7 separate regions of the Homo sapiens genome follow, and regions 1, 2, 3, 4, 5 and 6 are each linked to region 7. The links are contacts of gene promoters, found by promoter capture Hi-C in blood cells and fetal thymus (Javierre and others, 2016). All regions are on one chromosome and are shown on one strand. Each heading gives the region's core, a stretch centred on a gene start or on the middle of the fragment in contact. The rest is flanking DNA. Distances are from core to core; before and after follow the strand shown. Region 1 overlaps SDK2 (sidekick cell adhesion molecule 2). Region 2 overlaps LINC00469 (long intergenic non-protein coding RNA 469). Region 3 holds the start of SDK2-AS1 (SDK2 antisense RNA 1). Region 4 has its middle 19 kb from the start of LINC00469. Region 5 has its middle 59 kb from the start of LINC00469. Region 6 overlaps SDK2 (sidekick cell adhesion molecule 2). Region 7 holds the start of SDK2 (sidekick cell adhesion molecule 2).

What was found. Contacts are between HindIII fragments. The CHiCAGO score rates a contact against its expected background, and 5 or more counts as called.
Region 1: a contact is called between a fragment that was not itself captured here and the fragment with the promoter of SDK2 in region 7, in 4 of 17 cell types (naive B cells, total B cells, naive CD8 T cells and 1 more). The highest score is 7.3, in naive B cells.
Region 2: a contact is called between a fragment that was not itself captured here and the fragment with the promoter of SDK2 in region 7, in 1 of 17 cell types (naive CD4 T cells). The highest score is 5.5, in naive CD4 T cells.
Region 3: a contact is called between a fragment that was not itself captured here and the fragment with the promoter of SDK2 in region 7, in 1 of 17 cell types (naive B cells). The highest score is 5.1, in naive B cells.
Region 4: a fragment that was not itself captured here is called in contact with the fragment with the promoter of SDK2 in region 7 in 1 of 17 cell types (naive CD4 T cells); the score reaches 5.2 in naive CD4 T cells.
Region 5: a fragment that was not itself captured here is called in contact with the fragment with the promoter of SDK2 in region 7 in 1 of 17 cell types (M2 macrophages); the score reaches 5.9 in M2 macrophages.
Region 6: a fragment that was not itself captured here is called in contact with the fragment with the promoter of SDK2 in region 7 in 5 of 17 cell types (naive CD4 T cells, naive CD8 T cells, total B cells and 2 more); the score reaches 7.3 in naive CD4 T cells.

The regions. Positions count from the first base shown.
Region 1 is chr17:73,441,954-73,445,047 of GRCh38, reverse strand. All of the region lies in intron 5 of SDK2 (sidekick cell adhesion molecule 2), which reads left to right. Among named protein-coding and RNA genes, the nearest start is that of SDK2-AS1, 70 kb to the left of the region's middle. The HindIII fragment of the contact is 8,005 bases long and covers 1-3,094 here.
Region 2 is chr17:73,822,555-73,825,378 of GRCh38, reverse strand. LINC00469 (long intergenic non-protein coding RNA 469) reads left to right here. Exons shown (of 4, transcript NR_027146.1): 2 at 1,554-1,691. Among named protein-coding and RNA genes, the nearest start is that of LINC00469, 4.6 kb to the left of the region's middle. The HindIII fragment of the contact is 1,299 bases long and covers 900-2,198 here.
Region 3 is chr17:73,512,054-73,515,051 of GRCh38, reverse strand. All of the region lies in intron 1 of SDK2 (sidekick cell adhesion molecule 2), which reads left to right. It overlaps SDK2-AS1 (SDK2 antisense RNA 1), which reads right to left and starts at 1,369. Exons shown (of 2, transcript NR_135635.1): 1 at 1,262-1,369. The HindIII fragment of the contact is 195 bases long and covers 1,184-1,378 here.
Region 4 is chr17:73,846,572-73,849,498 of GRCh38, reverse strand. No RefSeq gene overlaps it. Among named protein-coding and RNA genes, the nearest start is that of LINC00469, 19 kb to the right of the region's middle. The HindIII fragment of the contact is 7,751 bases long and covers 1-2,927 here.
Region 5 is chr17:73,886,207-73,889,378 of GRCh38, reverse strand. No RefSeq gene overlaps it. Among named protein-coding and RNA genes, the nearest start is that of LINC00469, 59 kb to the right of the region's middle. The HindIII fragment of the contact is 1,365 bases long and covers 825-2,189 here.
Region 6 is chr17:73,421,245-73,424,019 of GRCh38, reverse strand. SDK2 (sidekick cell adhesion molecule 2) reads left to right here. Exons shown (of 45, transcript NM_001144952.2): 13 at 1-104; 14 at 498-634; 15 at 1,586-1,733. Among named protein-coding and RNA genes, the nearest start is that of SDK2-AS1, 91 kb to the left of the region's middle. The HindIII fragment of the contact is 1,464 bases long and covers 677-2,140 here.
Region 7 is chr17:73,642,884-73,645,861 of GRCh38, reverse strand. SDK2 (sidekick cell adhesion molecule 2) reads left to right here and starts at 1,417. Exons shown (of 45, transcript NM_001144952.2): 1 at 1,417-1,837. The coding sequence starts at 1,774. It overlaps LOC124904054 (a long non-coding RNA gene), which reads right to left and starts at 388. Exons shown (of 2, transcript XR_007065893.1): 1 at 168-388; 2 at 1-41. The HindIII fragment of the contact is 5,171 bases long and covers 1-2,978 here.

The DNA of each region.
Region 1 (3,094 bases), core at 579-3,078, 200 kb after region 7:
TTGTTCCGTACATGCTTAAAAGTGTTCTAATAACTGAATTGGGGATCCATTCTTAATTAAATGTAAATTAGTTAAAATTAAATCACATTAAATCAAAGGGACACCAGCCACATTGCAGGAGCTCATAGGCACGTGTGGCTCATGGCCCCTGCATTGGGTGGTTCAGGTCACAGGGCCTGGATACCCTGGCTCCTGGGCAGCTGGAGAACAGGCATCCCAGAAGCCTGCCCAAGAGAGGGGAGCAGCTCACACCCCTGCCCCACCGCTCACCGACCTGTGGCCCAGGCGAGTCCCATGGTCCCTGAGCCTCAGTTTCCCCATCTGTAAACTGGTGCCTATGGCAAAGTTGGGAGGACTAAATGAGGTGGCACAGGTGGGTCACATGGTCTCTGAGCCTCAGTTTCCCCATCTGTAAATTGGTGCCTATGGCAAAAATGGGAGGATTCAATGAGGTGATTCAGGGAGGATGGATCACGTTAGATGTCCCTTGTCCTGGCTGTTACGCAAAGCGTCTGGGGCAGTGAGATCCAGTGAGGCCCCCCGTGTGGGGAGCCCCGTACACTTCCTCCCACCCCAGGGCCCACCCTATGCCAGGAGCTCACCGGGAAGACACCCCTCCTCTTTGCTCGGGCTCACCTGTGATTTTCATGGTCTGGCCTTTGGAGCCCCATTTACCCCAATAACCCACTTGTGCTGGGGTGACCTTCATTAACAGTAAATCTGCTCCAGGACTCACTTCTCTGAGACCCACTCAACTCCCGCTGTCTCCCAGGGAGCCACGCCATGAAATGCCTGAGGCCTTGCCCGGTACCCTGCAGGGCTTAATGTGCGTCCCCGAGCCTGCGACTCCCACCTCTCCATAGCCTCTGAGTCTGTCACTTGGACTAGGGCTAGCAGGGAGAGCTCTTCCCTGCACAGGCAGGCAAATCTCCAGGAGGGGAGGCTGTCATTTATTGAGCACCTACTGTGTACCAGGCACTCTGCAGTCACCCCAGACCAGCTTAGCTGCCCCCTTCCCGGCAACCATCACACGCTCTTTCATTCATTAACCCCACGAGCATTGGTTCGACTTCCTCTGGGACATCACCCTCCATGAGGACAGACCCTGGCCATCTCGCTTGGTGGAGAATCTCTGGTGCCTGGAACACAGCCTGGCACGTGTCAAGCATTCACCTAGGAAAGATTTGTTGAGCTGGGGCCTGAATTCATACAACCCTGAGAGGTAGTGACTTTCATCCCCATTTCCCCCCTGAGAAGACTGAAACTCAGTAGGATGAAGTCACCAGGATACCTGGGGGCAGAGCTAGGCTTTGAGCCCAGGTCTTCCTCACCCCTGGGACCCTTTCTCACTGTGCCAGCATCCCTGGCCACCTCAGCCCCCATCGAGCCCTGCAGGCTGCCACCTGGGCCTGAGCACATGGCCATCTCTCCTCCATTCCTTCCAGAGCCAACGAGCCAGCCCTGAGCCCTGGGGCAGCCCTCGTATTTTTAAACTCAGAACTCGCCTTCCTTGAGGTCTCCCTGTTTACCTGGCTGTGCCATGCGGCGCTCTGGCTTGGGCTCTAACTGTCTGTCTCTTACTTGTGCCCCATTAATCTGAGCCGTGGTACCTGCGCGCCCCCGCATGTAATAAACAACTTAGAGCACACTTTTATGGATTCAGCTATATCAGCAGCTTTCAATCCGATCGCTCGTTATGGCACCTACATGAGGCTTTTATATTGTTGCAATTATTTTGCTTTATATGCTTCCTTTCTTTCCCCCTTCATTTTACTTTATTTTTTACATTTTATGCGCATTCTTCCTGGGCCTTTTCTAGCAAGGCCTGGAGTCAAGGAAGGAAAACCTGCCCAGGGCTGACAAGGTGGCCCAGAGGGGCAGTGGGGCCACTGTGCACCCTGCCCCTAACCCCATAAAGAACAGCCTGTCACTGTCACCGCAGGGCCCAGCATGTCATCATGGCCTACTACCTCCAGAACCTTCTGGAAAGGGGCCAACTGGATAGATTTGTTGTGGAGAAAAAGTCCTCAGAGGTTGTATTTTCAGGAGCCATGGATCAGGCATACACAGAATATTGGAGTTTATGCCAATATCGGGCCTACACTGACCCATCAAGATGAAAATCTGGCCTCTACTTTAAAAAAAAAAACTCAAAATATAAAAAAAAGGAATTGCTACCACCTCTATTAGAAGAGGAGTTTGGAGTGTTTCTCTCTCTTTTTTTTTTTCCAATAAAACCCACTTACAGGAAGTTCTTGTTCATTTCAATCATCGACCCTGGGAGTTGGATGATGGTAACTCTAGATCCATTCATTTGTTCACTTAACACACGTATTTGAGCACTTACTGTGTGCCAGGCATCCTTCTTCGTGCTGGAGGAGAGGTGGTCGTCAAGACCGCAGGAGTTGGCCAGGCGTGGTGGCTCACACCCATAATCCCAGCACTTTGGGAGGCCGAGGCGGGTGGATCATCTGAGGTCAGAAGTTCAAGACCAGCCTGGCCAACATAGTGAAACCCCGTCTCTACTAAAAATACAAAAATTAGCCGGACGTGGTGGTGGCACCTGTCATCCCAGCTACTTGGGAGGCTGAGGCAGGAGAATCACTTGAACCTGGGAGGCAGAGGTTGTGGTGAGCCGAGATCGTGCCACTGCACTCCAGCCTGGGCAACAGAGCCAGACTCCGTCCAAAAAAAAAAAAGACTGCATGAGTCAGCTCTTGGTGCCATAACAAAGCACCACAGCTGGGGGCTTACAAAGCAAATGTTCTGGCTCCCACCATCCTGGAGGCTGGAAGTCCCAGATTGGGAAGCCAGTATGGTCAGCTTCTCTTCTCAGCTTGCAGATGTCTGCCTTCCAGCCGTGTCCTCACATGGCGGAGAGAGAGCCAGCTCTGGCCTCTTCCTCTTTTTATAAGGACATGAATCTGAAATATGGAAATATACACACCTAACAAGTACCTGGAAACCTGCTTTCTGAGAGTTTCATCCTTAACTCTTTCATTTCATTCAATGAGAGAATTAAAGTATTACATGCTTTTCTAAGCAAAAGTTGACAATATGTTAAGAGAACATTTTTCTTTTTCCTTGGGACCCT
Region 2 (2,824 bases), core at 300-2,799, 180 kb before region 7:
GCAGAATTTGTGGCTGATGGTGGCTGGTCTGTGATCATTGTCTGGTGGGTGGGTTGCCCTAGCCCCCAGGCCTTCCTCTTGCTTTTTTTCCCCTCCACTCTTGAAAGGGAAGCTGAAGCTCTGGAAATCTACAACTATCTGCTGTGGGGGCTGCCTGAGCAGGTGGCAGGGCCCTTCTCTCCTGTTCCACAGACGATCTGATTCACGGTGGGCCCCTCGTGGCTGCTCCTGTCCACCTGGGCTACCACTCACACCCCTGCAGCCCTCCCTCCGATCTTCTCAAAGGCATGTGAGATGGTTTGCAAAAACACCCTCAACCCTGAAGAACAATCTAACTGTAAAATGCTCAAGGCTGGGCACAGTGGCTCACGCCTGTAATCCCAGCACTTTGGGAGGCCGAGGCGGGCAGATCACTTAAAGCCAGGAGTTCGAGACCAGCCTGGCCAACATGACAAAAACGGGTCTCTACTAAAATACAAAAATTATCCAGGTGTGGTGGTGTGTGCCTGTAATCTCAGCTGCTCCAGAGGCTGAGGCAGGAGAATCGCTTGAACCTGGGAGGCAGAGTTGCAGTGAGCCAAAATCATGCCACTGCACTCCAGCCTGGGTGACGGAGGAAGACTCCCTCTCAAAAATAAAAATAAAAATAAAATGCTTAAGAAAAATGAAACAAAACAAAAGCAATATCATTGAAATAAATGGCAGGAGGCTGCTTATTGAGGGGGTGTGGGAGAGACAGGGAGAGACAAGGAGAGAAGGTCATTTCCAGGATCTGTTCCTCAGATGGAGCCCAGTATGCACCGCTCTTTCCCAGAGCGGCCCTCTACAGATGAAGTGTCACAGCAAACAGAAAACCACAGATTCAGCCCTGGGGGCTACCAGCTTGGAGACTGGAAGCTTTCTGCTCCTCCTCTTAATTACTTTGTGCTTGAAAACCCTCGTGGCATATTGACCCTCCCAAGAAGCAGTAGGACGGGGGAGGACTCAGGACCTCCTAGACAGTCCTCTGAGTCCTGTCCCTTCATTCCCTGACAGTCAAAAGTGAGATTTTTTCCTCCATAAAGGAAAGGTGAGTCTGCCACTTCAGATTCTCAGCAGGCACTGCCGTCTCAGTGTTCTGGCCTGAACTCTTTGGAGGAGTCGTGTGACTACAAGCCTGAGAGCTGAGGACAGGGCACCCAGGGGATCCCAGGGACCAGCAGAGAGCTCTTTCCAGCTTCCTAGGTGGGTGTCCTGGCCAGTCCCACAGGCCCTTGTTTAATGGTCTGCTGTTGCTGTCTTGAAATTTTAAATCATTTTTCACAAGAATTGCAACATTTTCATTTTGTGCCGCCCTGCCAAGTGAAGTGGCTGCTTCTGCCTGGGGGTGTCAGTGTCCCATGGACATAAGGCACTGAAGTTAAGGGGCTCCTTTCTCCTCCCTCCTGGCATTTTTCACAGCAGGTTTCTCAACCACAGCAGTGGTGACACTTTGAGCTGAATTATTCTTTGTGGCGGGGGCTGTCCCGGGCCTTGCCGGATGTTTAACACCACTCCTGGCATTTACCCACCAGACGTCATCAGCACCCACCCTCCCAGATGTGACAATCAGAAATGTGTCCAGACATATCCAGATGTCCCTTATGGGGAAGGGAGAATCGCCCTGGCTTTGCAGACTCCAGCTGGAACCCCTGCTGCAAGCGATGGAGGAGGTGAGCTTTTCTTTCAGACTGACATAGAAAATTCCTTGGCAGGTCTTGTCCTGGGTTCACTCAGACACCACCAAAATAAGGAAATAGCTGAAGAAGAAGGCCAGAGCTTCTGAACGAAGAGAAACCCTACCAAATTTGGGTAGGGGGAGACTCTGAGGAATATTCCATAAGGTTGGGAGGGAGGTAGACAGGTGGATCCCAGACACCTGGACTCCTTGATGGAGGCAGGTCTAGCTCCCCTTCGCAGCTTCTGAGCATGCCCCCTGGCCTCCTCTTTGGACTCCTGCATCAAGAGGGCAGATGGGAAACCACCAGGCTTTGGGTCAGAAGACCCAGATTTAAATTTCAGCCACCCGCTATGTGACCCTGAGCCAGTTTCATAACCTTTCTGAGCCTGTTTTCTCACCCACAAAATAAAACTAACCATACCTACCTCGGGAGTCACGAGATGAAAGAAAAAGTGTGTCAAGCCCCTGGCAGGTGCTCAGTATCAGCAGCTATTAAGCTTTTTTCTAACCAACTCTGAGCAAATCCCTGACCCCCTGGAGCCCTCATTTATCCTCACCTGGGCCACAGAAAAAATAGCTGACTGGCGTCTTTCCCCCAGCCAAGGAGACAGAGACAGCCTGAAGATAAGACTGAAGTGAAGAGCCAGGCGCAGTGGCTCACACCTGTAATCCCAGCACTTTGGGAGGCTGAGGCAGGCAGATCACCTGAGATCGGGAGTTCGAGACAAGCCTGGCTAAGATAGTGAAACCCCGTCTCCATCAAAAATACAAAATTAGCAGCGCGTGGTGGCGCGTGCCTATAATCCCAGCTACTTGGGAGGCTGAGGCAGGAGAATCACTTGAACCTGGGAGGCGGAGGTTGCAGTGAGCCGGGATGGCGCGACTGCACTCCAGCCTGGACGACAGAGTGACTCCGTCTCAAAGAAAGAAAAAAAAAGGATTGAAGTGAAGAGCGAGGAGTGTGCCTGAGAAGAGGCAACCATCTCGTGCTTTCGTGAGTAATTAAAAATGGTATTTGGTCTCCGGTGATACCGCCGTGAAAGAACCTTGACAAAATGAGCTTCAAAGGTGCGGCGTTCCCCAGGTGTTTCCTCCCGAGTCCCACATCCTAGCATCTCAAACCCC
Region 3 (2,998 bases), core at 32-2,531, 130 kb after region 7:
AAAGTTCCATGGTTAGTATGGAATAAAGGCAGCAGCAAGACTAGAAGTTTGGAGAGAAGTGAGGTTTGGTGAGAGCAGCCCACCCTGAGCCCCTGCTCCCTCTGACCCCGGGTCCATCCTGCTCAGGTGTGTGGTCCACCAGGGGTAAGGAGCACAGGTTTCCACCCCTGGCACCCATTAAGAGGCCGTGGTAATCAGTCCAGGACACGGTGGTGGGGCCAAGACTAGGAGATGGTGGGAGAAAAGTTTGCGAGTCTAGAAATCCCAGCTCCCACCCTGTTTCCAAGCATTCCAGGGAAGCTCGTGATGACTGAGCCCTTATTCTATGCCTGAGAAGAAGCCGCAAAAAGAGAGAGGTTTCTGCATGTTTCAGAGCTGGGAAGGGAGTTTGTCCAGGCTTGGTACTCCCTGCAGCTTATTCTGGAGGGCAGATGGACATCATTTGGCCAATTAGGTGGCTGGCAGAAGCCATCACCCCCTTCCTCCACCCACCGACCCATTCCCAGCAGAATGGCTCCACAGGAGGTGCGGTTCCCAGGGCTGGGCTGGCTGGGAAGTCAAATCCCCTGAACAGTGAGATGGACACAGCCTGGGGACTCCAGAGAAAGATGACATTATTTTGCAGAGAAGGGGAAAAGTTGAAGTTGAGATTGGCTTCTGTATGGGGCCATTTAGCCTGGAGCCTAGGGAGGACAATGGGGGTATTTAGTGCGAATATCAAGGGAAGATGGCAGTCAGCGATCCCCTGACCTGTTATGGGAAATTACAAGGAAGCCCCGGGCTGAGGCCTCTTGCTGGCCTCTGAAGGCCGCTCTTCATTTAAGCAGCTCAGGCTCTGCTGGTCCGGGACCTCCGAGCCACGTGACATGCCTAAATGACACACAGAGGGTCTGTCCTCTTCCCTGTCATCAATGGGATCACCCTGTGAACAGCTTACCATGCACACTCACATACACGTATGCACATGTATACATATATCTGATCATAGATAAGTAATTCATACCTGTGGTCCACAATATCAATGTTACACAAAGGTATAGAGTGAAAAGCTAGTCCCCCAACCCAAGTCCCCGGGCACCCAGACCTCCCTCAAGTGTCACTGGGATCCATTTTTCATGGAGCCACTAGAAAAAGCCTGTGCCAATACAAGCAAATTGATTTTTATACTTGAAGAAGAAAAGCTTCTACGTAAACAGTAGCAGATTATCCACCCTATTCCATGCCTGAGCTTATCCACCCTATTCTTGTTTTTGTCACTTACCAGTAGTTCTCAAAGATCGCTCAGGCGCCGTCTGCTGCACAGAATTCTGTTGTTTGGAGGGACAATCGTTTCTTTAAGCAGTGCCCTCTTGATAGGCATTCAGGCCATTTCCAAGCTTTTGCTGTTATAAGCTGAGCGGCTCTGAAGTACTGTCATTTCACACATGCACAAGTGAGTCTGTGGAGGGTGAATTCCTTGAAGAGTTGGCGAATTGGAGGATGTGTGCATTTTTAGCTTTGATAGCATTGCCAAATTGCTCTCGTAGAGGGCGTACCAAGCTACAGTCCCGCAAAGCTGTCTGCGAGGGTGCCTGTTGCTCTACAAATTCACCAGCCCAGAATATCACACTTTTACATCTTGGCCAGTGTGATAAGGGAAAAAATGGTATCTTATTGAATTTTAGTTTTCCTTTTTCTTATCATGAGGCTGAGCATCTTTGTGTGAGTTCCAGGGGCATTTGTAATTCTCTTCTGCGAACTTCATATCCTTTGCCCATTTTTCTATTGGTTTGTTAATCTTTTTCTTACTGATTTGTGGGAACATTTCTATATCAGGAAAATTAGCTCTTTGCCCGTGATAACAGTTGCAAATATCTTTCCCCAGTTTGTCATTTGTCACTTCTTTTTGTTTATGAGGGTTTTTTTTTTTCCAGGCAGAATTTCTGTGTAGTTGAAGGTATCAATCTGTTTTATGACCTTTTGGAGCTTGCATAGTACTTAGAAAGTACTTGGCGAGTACATTGCTTTGCCAAGACAGTATATTTTTAAATCTCTGATTTTTTTTCTAGGTCTTTTAGAATTTCATTTTTCATGTTTAAAACATTGATCCATCCAGCATTTATTTTGAGGTAAAAGTGCCAGAAAGAGATTCATCTTTATTTTTTTATCCCCAAATGGTTCCCTAGCTGTTTCAAAACCATTTATTGACTAATTGGTGTATTACCCACTGATTTGAAATTCTACTTTCATCATACATTAAATTTCCTCGTATGTATTTGGGTCTATTTCTAGACTCCCGGACTATTTCTTCATCAGTCTATTTTACAAGAAGGCACTGTTTTCATTATTGCAGCTTTGTAATGTAGTTAAATGTCTATGCTAGTTTCCTCTGTTTGCTATACTTTTTCAGAATTTGTTTGGCTATTCTTTCATGGTTGTTGTTTTGATGTGAACTGTAGAATCACTTTGCCTACTTAAAAAAATTCCTTCGTATGTGTATGTGTGTGTGTGTGTGTGTGTGTATGTGTGTGTGTTTGAGGTGAAGAAAAGTTTAAGAGAATGACATCTTTATAACGTTGATTCTTTCTATCCACAATTCTCCTTCCTTCTCAATTATCTCCTTTTCCACAGAGAGGGTGGCTAACAGGGCTGTTGTGTACAGTTGCACAGGTTGTTTACTGCACCATCCTAGTACTAAGGCTGAGGGGAGCCACTGGCAGCTGCCAACAGGATATGAGCTCTTCTCTCTGGGCTGATCTGTCCATCTTTATATAGATCAATAGTGTTAATAGCCACCCCTCCTAGCACGTGCCAGGCTCTGTTCTAAGCACTATATATTTATTAATGTATTTAATCTTCAAAGCAAACACATCTCCAATTTATAGCTAAGGAAAATGAGGTACAAAGAGGTTAAGTAACTTTCTCAAGGTCACTGGTTTGTGCTACCCTCCTGAGCATTCACAACACAGAAATCTGTCCCTGCACATAAATACACACACATACACACAGATATGTGCAC
Region 4 (2,927 bases), core at 344-2,843, 200 kb before region 7:
CAGTGTTCTCAGGCACTCACACTAACCCCAGGCACATTTCTGTGTCTCCAGACTCATCAAAGTACTCAGAACACAGAGGCCTCCAGGGAATGAGTCCACTCTTTAGGAATCAGTTGTAGTTATACATGGAGTGGGGAGGGAAATAATCTCTCCCTTGAATGCAGTTTCATTCAACCTCATCACAACTCTGCAAGGTGGGTCCCACCCACTGCACTACACTGCACACGAAGCAGAGGCTCAGAGTTTAAATGACCTGCCCAGGGCTCACCACTGCAGGGTAGTAGAGACCAAATGTATGCCCAGGCCAGGTTCCAAAGCTCGCTCTGCATTGGTTGGCTGCCAGGAAGCAGCGAAGGAGGCCAGGCTGCAGGACATGCTCAGGGGGTGCTGGGTGGCATCTGAGTCCCGAGAGCAGAACTGTGTGGCCTCCCATGTCCAGAGAGGAGGCACCTGATGGAAGGACAATAATGAGCTGCAGTCAATGGCAGTGAGGAGGGTCAGAGGTCAGAAGTAAGTAAGGGGCTGGGTGACATGGTGGGTGTCGAGCACTGAGCAGGGAGGGGACAGAGGTGGGTGGAGAGAAGGACAGAGGGGAGGCCTTGCCAGGGAGCCAGGTCCAGGTCTGGAAGCCCATGCCTAGAACACCAAGTGCGTTTGGAAGCACTAACCTCAATCCTTTAGTCCCAGCCGTGTGTAGCCAGACACGGACCTCCAGCTTCCCAGCTTCTGTGCCTCCCATAGGCTCCAGGTGTCTGGACAACTAACAAACCTGGAGCCTGGCTGCCCCTTCTGTGCTCACACGGGCTCCTGAGCAGGGCTCCCTGTGTCTCCTGCCCATCCACAGACTGGCTGGCTCGGGTCCTCTTCATGCCGTGTTGGGGGAGGCCTTCCAGATTCATCTTGCACGTTCTCCTTTGCTCCAGGCTGCTCCTGGGAAATGAAAACCCACGAATCAATGCCAGAAAAATGACCATCTCCACTCACCCTCGCCAGGAAACCAGCTTTCAACTCTCCCACCTTGGGCACAAGAGGCGCAGTGGGGCTTAAATTCCTTAAGTTCTGTCTTCTCTTGGGGTGTGCTTCCTATAGCTCAGGGCCAACTCATTAATTTATCTGTCAGGAGCACTGAGGCGGCCACGAAACATTGATGAGGCCATTAGGGCATGAGGGTGGACGGTAAAGTGTGGTGGGGGAGCCTGGACTGTGTGCCCCTGGCGGTGGATTTGGGGTGCATTCCCAGCTCCCGAGCACGAATGTGGCGCTGCTTCAGGCAGATCATCACACGCCGCTTGGAAGGCCTGAGTTAGGATTAATGGCCGGGCATTGTGCAGCTTTTCATCTCCCGCTTGTGAATATATATGAGCACTGTGTTCTCGCCGCAGCTGGAGTTAAAGAGCTGCCACCACCTCACTGAAGACTGGGAGAGAAACATTCAGCTCAGAAGCAATTTGGCTCCCAGGCTGGTCCCTGCGTGGTGGGCTTGTTTCTGCTTTTCCCTTGCTTATTGGTATAATTAAAGCAGTGGGGGCAGAAAAGGAGTTGGGGATCTTAGTGGCTGAGGATTCCATGTCTTTGAGGTCAGTAAGACTTGGGTTTGAATCCTAGCTCCACCAAAAGCTCTGTGATCTGGGGAAAAATTACTCAACCTCTCTGAGCCTCAGTTTTGCTGAGATAAAGCCACCTTCCTCAAGGCCTGGGTAGGGCTAAAGGAGATGATGTGAGTAGACTGTGGAGTTCCTAGCCCAGAGTTGGCTGCTGCAATTAGGGTTCTAGATCCAAGCAATAGAAACTGATTCTGGCTAATTGAAGCAGCAGAGAAATTTGCTGAAAGGGTATCAGGAGGTTGCAGAATTTCTGGGAGGGCTTGTGTCTTAGTCTGTTTTCACACTGCCATAAAGACATACCTGAGGCTGGATGAGGTGGCTTACACCTGTAATCCCAGCACTTTGGGAGGCTGAGGTGGGCTGGATCACTTGAGGTCAGGAGTTTGAGACCAGCCTGGCCAACATAGTGAAATCTCCATCTCTACTAAAAATACAAAAATTAGCCGGGCCCGGTGGTGTGTGCCTGTAGTCCCAGCTACTCGGGAAGCTGAAGCAGGAGAATTGTTTGAACCTGGGAGGCGGAGGTTGCAGTGAGCCAAGATCATGCCACTGCACGCCAGCCTGGGCAACAGAGCAAGACTCTGTCCAAAAAAAAAAAAAAAAAGACTTACCTGAGATTTATAAAGGAAAAATATTTAATTGACTCACAGTTCAGCATGGCTGGGAAAGACGCAGAAAATTTACAGTCATGGCGGAAGTTGAAGGGGAAGCATGGCACCTTTTTCAGAAGGCGGCAGGAGGGAAAATGAACACAGGCGGAACTACCAAACACTTGTAAAACCAGCACATCTCGTGAGAACTCACTATCATGAGAACAGCATGGCGGAAACTGGCCCCATGATCCAATCACCTATACCTGGTCTCTCCCTTAACACATGGGGATTATGGGAATTATAATTCAAGATGAGATTTGAGTATGGACACAAAGCCTAACCATATCAGCTTGGCTTTGTGACAATGTATACAGGACCACAGCCAAAGTCACAGCCTAGGCATGGTCTGGTGAGGACCCTCCACCACCTCCATGGAGCACCAGGGGCCCCATTTTGTGGGTCCTGGATACAGGATGCCACTGCAGCCACTACGAGGCCACTGTCCCCTGGGAACTGGATAGAGGCTGTTAGTAACCACGACCACAGGTTCTCCATTCGTCCTGCATCTGTCTATCTTGCATCTGTGTATCCTGCATCTGTGTGGCCAGCTCCAGACAAAAGGTCCAGGAAGGGCACATCCGGTTGTCAAGCCTGGTCACAAGCAATGCAGGCTGGCAGAGTGCGTCACTGGCATGCTTAGATTCTATATCGGGGACTTTTTCCAAACATA
Region 5 (3,172 bases), core at 258-2,757, 240 kb before region 7:
TAAGGTCACACAGGCACAAAGTAGAGGCCCTGAGATTTGAATCCAGGCCATATGGCTCTGGCGTCTATGGCTTGACTGTCTTACTGTGCTGCTAACAGCAGAGTCAGGTATGATCTGGTGTTGATGAGCGCTTGGGAGAGCATGTTAGTTATCTACCGCGTTTAACAAATCACCCCAAATCACTCCAAAACTTCACAGCTTAAGGCGATCACATTTGTGATCTCAGTCTTTGTGGGTGGGGCCTCTGGGTGTGGCCTGGCTGGGCCCTCTGCTTTGGACTGTCTCTCAGGCTGCAATCGAGGTGTTAGCCAGGGCTGGAGAGTGGGCACTGTGCCATTTGTGAAGGCTTGACTGGAAAAGGCTTCACTTCCAAGTTCACTTTTGTGGCTGTTGGCAAAATTCAGTTCCTTGACAGTTGTTGGGCTCAGGGCTTTCGTTCCCAGCTGGCTGTAGGCTGGAGGCTTCTCTCAGTTCCTTGTCGCACCAAAGAAGCCAGCAAGAGAGAAAGTCCACTAGCAAGAGAGAAGTTACAATCTTTTAAAACTTATCTCAGAAGTGACAATCATTATTTTTGCCATATTCCTGTGATTAGAACAAGTCACCAGGCAAGACCATGTTCAAGGAGAGGAGATTACACAAGAATGTGAATACCAGGAAGTAAGGATCATCTTAGACCACCTTAGAGTCAGCCTGCCACAGAGAAGAGGGTAGCCAGCTCCAGTGCCTATGACCCAAATCTAAGATTAGGTGAACATTCTGCAAAGCTTAGAGGCATGGGTTTCCTACCTATGGGCAGGGCAGCTCACTTCTACTCCAAAGAAGCTTATTGAGAGGATGACCTCCTGATAGTTTTATCTCCTATCCTTTTGTGTAGATATCAGAATGAGTAGATAGAATCTTGTTTCTGAAAATGATGCTAAGATCTGCTACACAACCATCATTTTAAAACAATTTTCCACCATGTTCCTAACCTTCCTTCCACCTCTCCTTGTTGAGGGGTTGATCCGTTTGTTGATGCAGATATTTGCTGCTATGCAATCGGCACAGCACCTGCTAGTAAAGACCTACAGATAAAACACACAGTTCCTGGATTTAAAAGAGCTCAAGTGACATTTATTATGTTAGCCATATTCCTTTGGTTAGAACAAGTTGCCAGTCTGGCCCACATTCAAAGAGAGAAGATGACACAAACGTGAGTGCCACGAGGTGGGGATCAGCTTAGACCATCTTAGAGTCCACCTGCCACAGAGAAGAGGTATCTAAGCAGAAGATCCTCTGCAAATGCGACATAGCTCTAGGAAGAGAAGGCTCAGACTCCTTTCCATTATAACCCAGATGCCATGTGTTACAGCAGAGATTATAACAGCATGCCATGGGTAAGCTCAGGTAGGCTTGGAAACTCGGGGCCTATGGAATTTTCCCCAGGGGAGGTGATAAGATTAGCTGCATCCGGAAGGACAATGAGGAATCAGGGAGGTGGTGGATGAAGGAATCCCCAGACAACACACACAACTTCTAGAAGAGTCCAGAGGCTTGAGGGAGCTCAGCACTTTCTGGGAACTAGAAGACACCTGGTGGGGCTAAACTCAATGAGGTGGTATGAGGAAGCTGCAGGTGGTTGAGAACATGTCCCAGCCCTACTGGCTGCATTTGGAAGGTCTTTGTGTCAAGAGGAACCTTCATTATCAATACATACTTCATGAGCACTTACTGCATACCACTTGTGGTTCTATGCACTAAGAAGATAGTGGTAAATAACACTGAAAAGGTCGTGGGTTCCCAAGACCACTTCCCTTCTGACACCAATGGAAAAGTTTGGGGGTTATCCAAGACCAGCCTCAGGTTCAATGATTCACTGGAAGGACTCAGAACTCAGCAAAGGCATTATACTTATGGTTGTGATTTATTACGGTGAAAGGATACAGATGGAAATCAGTCAAGGGAAGCGGTACATGGGGCAGGGTCCAGGAGAGACCAGGCATGAACTTCTGTTGTCCTTTCCCAGTGGAACTTTGGACAGCACCTGTTTCTTCCAGCAATGATGTGCGATAACACACACAGAGTCTGGCCAACCAGAGATGCTCACCCAAATCTTGGTGTCCAGAGATTCTATTGGGGCTCAGTCACATAGACACGATTGACTGCCTGCCAGGTTGACCTTAGTCTCTAGGCCTTCCAGAAGTCAAGCTTATACCAAGTGGTCCAAGACCACCCCCCCAACCTACCACAAATCATATTGTTAGCATAGAAAATTTAGGGTGGCCCAAGACCCCAGGTAAACAAAGATGCTCTTATCAAACAGGGCATTCCAAGGACATAGAGGTTCCCTCCCAGGAGCCAGGGCCAAAGACCCAAACCTTTCTTTGGGTAAAGTTGATCCTTTACTGCACAAATACAGACTTGGTTCCTGACTTCAAAGAATATGCTTCCTAGTGGGGAAGACAGATCACACCCCTCCCCCACACACAACCACCGCCACCACCATTACTACCGCCACCAACACTCAACCAACAATATAACTACAAATGGTTATGAATGCTGTGAAATAAAGAGTCAGAGGTATAGCAGGACACTGACCTAGAAGCGCAGAGAGAGACTTCATTGATAGGGTAGGGAAGGAAGACATCTCTGAAGAGGGGACTTTGGAGTTAAGACCTGAAGAATGACAATGAACCATCATGCATGACAAGAGCTGGAGTTAAATCATTCCAGGCAGGTAGAATGGCAAGTACATAGTAAAAAGGAGAAAGGGTCTTGGTGTGTTCAAGGAGCAGAAAGGAAACAGGTATGAATGGAAATAGTGAGCCAGAGGGAGGGGTCATGTAATGGAGCTGGACAGACACATCATGCATAGCTTTGTAGGTCACTTTAGGGAATTTGAAATTTATTCCAAGAGCAATGGATATCCAGCCAGCTGATTGCATTTCATTCTAACTCTACGGAAAAGGATGATGAGTGTGAAGCACACAGAGCGTCTAAAAGCCAACCTATACAAAGCCAGTTATCATGCAGTGGTGCACCCCGGGGACAGGGCCTCTTAGAGAAAAGGCATCAGAAGGCGCTCTGGGGTCAAAGGGATAGCTGAGGAACAGAGAGACTGTCACAAAGGCAAGAAAAAGAATCTAAGACTCTCTTCTCTTTGCAGACCTGGAGAGCACTCTGGGTGTTATGT
Region 6 (2,775 bases), core at 159-2,658, 220 kb after region 7:
TCCCTGCACATCTCACAGACGTGGTCGGGAGACATCGGCACGTACACCTGCCGGGTGATCTCAGCAGGAGGCAACGACTCTCGCAGTGCCCACCTGCGAGTCAGGTAAGGGCAGCCCTCCCAGACCCCGGCAGAGGCGGTCCAGGCAATAGCAACTGGCATGCTCAGAGCCAGCCGAGTCCCTTTTTTCAGATCCCCAGGCCACGTGTGACCTGAACTGTTCAGCTTTGCTCAGGACATACCCCCAGCATCCTTCCAGGCCTTTCTCTCAGCTCAGTTAGGCCCTCCGTCAAGAGCAGGGGGGTGTGAGGATGGCTTTAGCAGGAGGGCTCTGGTTCCAGAGAGAAAAATCTCCAGGTAGATGGCCCGAAGGCCACATTTTACGTCTAAGCATGCGGTATCATGGAAGGTCAAGGCCTACACAACCTGTGTCCACAGCGCCCCCGTCACCTGCCTGCAGACCACATAGGGATGCCTGACCACGTGTCTCTTTTCCAGGCAACTGCCCCACGCGCCCGAGCACCCAGTGGCCACTCTCAGCACCGTGGAAAGGCGAGCCATCAACCTGACGTGGACCAAGCCCTTTGATGGCAACAGCCCCCTGATCCGCTACATTCTGGAGATGTCGGAGAACAGTAAGCTTCCCGTGGTCACCTCCAACACCTCCCGCCCAAGCTTGGACTTAGGAGTCAGCCCTGGGCTGGGGTCCCAGCTCTCCTGCTTCCTAGTTCTGGGCCTTTGAGCAGATCCTTCCCTCTGGCAGCCTCAGCGTTCCCATCTCTGAAGGAAACACAGGCATCTGCCTGTCAGGCCCTGTTACAGTTGAAAGAGATGACGCACAAAAGGTGCTTAACTCAGGGCCTGGCACAGCAGAAGCTGCAAAGAAAATGGCCAGTATTTATTTATTATTTATTTATTTATGTATTCCCCAAGTCAAATGAGCAGGCATAATTCGCATTGCATTTTATTTATTTATTATTTATTTATTTATTCATTTTTGAGACGGAGTTTCACACTTGTCACCCAGGCTGGAGTGCAATGGTGCCATCTCGGCTCACTGCAACCTCTGCCTCCCGGGTTCAGGTGATTCTCCTGTCTCAGCCTCCGAAGTAGTTGGGATTACAGGCATACATCACCATGCCCAGCTAATTTTGTATTTTTAGTAGAGATGGGATTTCACCATATTGGTCAGGCTGGTCTCAAACCCCTGACCTCAGGTGATCTGCCCGCCTCAGCCTCCCAAAGTGCTGGGATTACAGACATGAGCCACCACACCCAGCCTGAATGGCATTTTAAACACAGCTTGCCTAGAGCTCATCAATTTGTGGGGGGTAGTGGGGGAGACAAATGCATCTCAGTTCCCATAAGCCCTTACTTTCCTCCGGCACCCTCCACCGTCTCCTCCCCAGGGTCGTGTGAGCTAATGGGACCTAGAAAAATGGCATGGCGGGCCACTCCTGCACCAAGCTGGGGAGGCTCTCTCTTGCCAGCCCCAGTGAAGCTGGACCCTGCTGGGAGTGGGGAGTAAGAAGCATGCTTCATCCCACCCAAGATACCCACTTCTGCCCCACTCACTGTCCCTGCAGATGCCCCCTGGACTGTACTCCTGGCCAGTGTGGACCCCAAAGCTACCTCAGTGACAGTCAAGGGCCTGGTTCCTGCACGCTCCTACCAGTTCCGTCTTTGTGCCGTCAACGACGTGGGGAAAGGACAGTTCAGCAAAGACACCGAGAGGTGAGGGCACTGGCGCTCTACAGGGGCGTCGCCAGGACTCCAACAGGCAGGGGCTGCAGCCGAAACCGATGTGGCAGATTCTGGCTCAGCTCCTCCTGGCCCCCTCTAGGCTTCCGCCTCTGTAGAAGGGGAGAGCAATCCTGATGAGTGCCTCACCAGGATGTTGCAAAGGTTAAATGGGGTGCTCTGAGTAGGGCACTGGGGAACGCGGTGAGCACCAACCAAATGTAGTCATCCCAGTTACTGGGAGCTGTGCAAGCAAAAAGGCTCACCTCCTTCCACTCCACATCCGCATGGGCTGCTGTCATTGTTAAATGGATGCAAAATTCCAGAGATACAGGATCTACACAGATCTCCATATCCATGTCTTGCACGACGCCAGGCCCTGCTAGGGTTCCCGCAAAGCTTTTATAAAATGATGGAAATTGCTGGGCACGGTGGCTCACACCTGTAATCCCAGCACGTCAGGAGGCTGAGGCGGGCGGATCACCTGAGGTCAGGAGTTCGAAACCAGCCTGGCCAACATAGCAAAACCCAGTCTCTACTAAAATATGAAAATTAGCTGGGTGTGGTGGTGGGCGCCTGTAATCCCAGCTACTCGGGAGGCTGAGGCACAAGAATCCCTTGAATCAGGGAGGCAGAGGTTGCAGTGAGTCGAGATCCAGCCTGGATGACAGAGCAAGACTGTCTCAAAAAAAAAAAAAAAAAAAAAAGATGGAAATTGAATAAAAGCTGCAGATGCTTCATATAAAAACATCACACGGTGATACCCATCTATGTAGAAGGAGAATTCTATCCTCTCCAGCTCCGTAGAACAAGCAGCCACCTCTAGCAAGAAAGATGTCATGGGAGAGGTCAGAACAACCGTGATACAAATCACGTGCGCAAAGCCTTGCACTTGGCTCTTTGAAAGACGCCTGGGGCTTAAATCAATCATGGTGGTTTTGCCACAGTTGCAATGAGCTTGGGTCTCTCTGGCTTGTACTAAGGTAGCACCACTGGGGTCAAACAATCTCACGGGAGGGAGCAGTGGCAGGTGGCA
Region 7 (2,978 bases), core at 168-2,667:
GAATTCCTCCACCAATGTCCGGTTCTTCTACTCTTTACAAGCTGGGCTCCGAAGGAAAAAAGAAGAAACAAAGAACGCACGCTCCTTGGCACCAACTTCACTTTCTCAGGCTTCTGCAGGTCCCAGGCCTCCCGATGTCTCCCCCTCCGCCCTGAGCATTTCCAGACCTTGGAGAGCCTGACTTGGGAAGGGGAAACTGGAATCAATCGGTTGACCGACCCCCTTTTCCCAACCGCCGCCTCCCCACCAATCACTCCATGTCCGGAAGGGGGCTGGGGGCTCCCGACTATAGGAGACTCTGGGAGTCCTATGAGGCCTTTGAGACAGGGGCGCGAGCGAGGCTGGAAGGAAAGGCTGGGCAGAGAGCGGAGGGGCTCGCGCGCATCTCTCCCGGCGCGGCAGAAGGTTGGCACTGCTGCCCCCCTGCGGGTCCCAGAGCCGCTGGGCGCCCGCGGCCGCGCAGTCGGATTGTATTTCTGCGGGGCTCGCTCCCGGGCCTGGCTCGGGGCCGCCGCCGCCGCCGCCGCCCCTCCCGGCGCGCAGGCTGCTCTCCAGTCGCGGCCACGGGGTAGCGCTCGGCCCCCCTCTCCGCGTCTCCGCCTCCGCCGCGCTCGTCCCCGGCTCACGCTGCCCCCGCAGCTCCGGCTCGGCGCAGGCAGGAGCGGCTCTCTGGACGCCGAGCCCGGGAAGCGGAGGGCGGCGGGCTCGGCGAGCGGCAGCGGCGGCCGAGGCGCTGGGGCGGCCGTTGCTCCTCCGGCCCGGGAGGTCGGCGATCGCCGGGCGTCCGAAGGGGCGCCGCGTCCCCGGAGCCGGGGCTGCCCGCCGGGCTCTCCGTGCGTCTTCCCGAGAGCTCCGGCCGGGGCGCGGCGGAGGGCAGAGCCGCCGGTCTCCATCCTCGGGCCGGCAGGAGGCTCTGCGCCCGGGCGCCGGCGACAGCCCGCGTCGCGAAGCCCAGCACCCTCCCCCGCCGCCCCGCGGCTGGCGCGGACATGGGCGCTCAGGGCTGCGCGCCCGGCTCCGGGACCCGCAAAGTTTGCTAGCCGGCTGGGCGCGGAGCCGAGGGCGCGCCCGGCCCCAGCGCCCCCGGAGGAGACCCGGCGTCTCCCGATTCGGCGCGAGGGCGGTGGAGCCCAGAGGGGGTGGTTCGGCCCCGCCAGATGCTGCCTGCAAAGTTAGAGAGAAGAAAACTTCAGCTCCAGGGAGATTCGGACCGCTATGCTCACCGCGTCCCCCGAAACCGGCGCCCCTAAAAGAACCCCCGCACCCGCGTCTGCCACTGCGCTCGGCTCTGGCCGGGTCCCGGGGGCCCGGCGCCTGGAACGGCGGTGACTGCGTCGGCCGGGAGAACCCAACCAGGGGGCGGGGAGGGGGCGGGCAACGTGGCCACGGGAGGAAGTTTCCTGAAGTTGTCCATTTATTCCGGAGCTCGGCCGGCGACCCGGCCGGATCGCAGAGGCCGCCCTGTTTGGGAGAAGTCGGAGTTGGGGTGCTAAGGGAGAGAGGCGCCCTAGTCCGAGAGGGCGGCCTGGCCTCTTTCTCCCTGCTCGCCCCTCGCCTTCCGGGCGCGCTGCCGGGCTCGGACTAGTACAGAAGAGGAGGAAGGGTTGGGGTAGCCAAGCGCTGCCCCTCCCGGGCATATTACACCCCGGGGCACGGAGCCGCGTAGACTGACTGTTTCCTGGGACTAAGCCACGGGGTATCGGACCCCACCAGGATTATAAAACAGGGCGGAGGGAAGGGAGACCCCGAGGACCCCTCTCCAGGCTGGTCACCATGTGGGGGCTTTTGATCTGGACACTGCTAGCTCTGCATCAGATCCGCGCGGCCAGAGCCCAAGGTAAGGAGGGACCCCCACGTGGGGACAGGGAGGGGGCTGGGAGAGTGGGCGGGGGAGGGGCGGCGGGAGCTGGCCGGCCTCACGGTGACCTCCTGGACACCCGGCTTAGCCGTGGCAGAGCCCTCTCCAGGGAGTTTCAAGACACCCCATCTCCCAAGTTTTGGGGCTCTTTTGGGGGTGGGGCAGTCTCTCCGAGACTTGTGGCTTCCGAATGGGGGAAGGTGGGGACGACCTGGGGAGGCAGAGAAGAGCCCAAGGTGAAGTGGGAGGGGCGCTCCCCTCCCCCCGTCTGCTGTGGCTGCCCTGCGCCGGCTTGGGAGGGGAGCGACATTCCGTGCCGGGCTCCACGCTCGGCTACGCTGAGCTTCCCAGACCGAGCTCCTGGTTCCCTGCTCGGTGTCTGCGGGGAAGGGCAGGGCCCCTGCCGGGCAGGCGATGGCCTCCCCGGGGCGAGGGAGTGGGGTGGGCGAGCGCTGGATGCCGGGTTGCTCGCCCGGGGAGAGCAATTGCCCGGCTTGGCCACGTACGGGAGCCCGCCCCTGGCTGCTCGGCCAGCCGCTGGGGCTGGGGGTGCTTCGCTGCGCGGGCCTGGAGCCAAGGTCGCGGGTGCAGCCGCGGACCCACCGGGGGGTGGTGCACAGGGAGGGTCTGAGGCCTCCCCTCCTACCCATCCACCCACACCCAGCATCCCCGCCCCTGCCTCCAGCCTCCGCTGTTCGCTCGATAGTCTGTGCAGCCGCTCGCTGCTGTGACCTGTGGCTGCCGGGAGCAGCCTCGCGGTGGAGAAGGGCTGGTGGCTTTGGGTTTGGGAGTGCTACGAAGGATCCGAGGTGTGATCTGCGCTGCCCGCTTCCTGAGGGTGGATGCCCAGACGTCCCCCTGGTCCCCGGGCAGGTCCCCGAGGTGAAGGGCGGCTGCACCGGCGGTTCCTCGACTTTGGGGTTCGCCGATCCAGACAGTGGTGTCAGCGGTGTCCGAGCGGCGCCTGCTGGGGGCGGAGGGAGACGAAGCCTGGACCGAGCTCCAGGACTCGCAGGGCTAGGCCTTCACTCTCGCAGGCTCAGGAGGGGGCCAGACCCACCCTAGGGGTCCGGACTGTGGGGGCTGCAACCCACTCCCCACGCCGCCTCGTGCGCCAGGC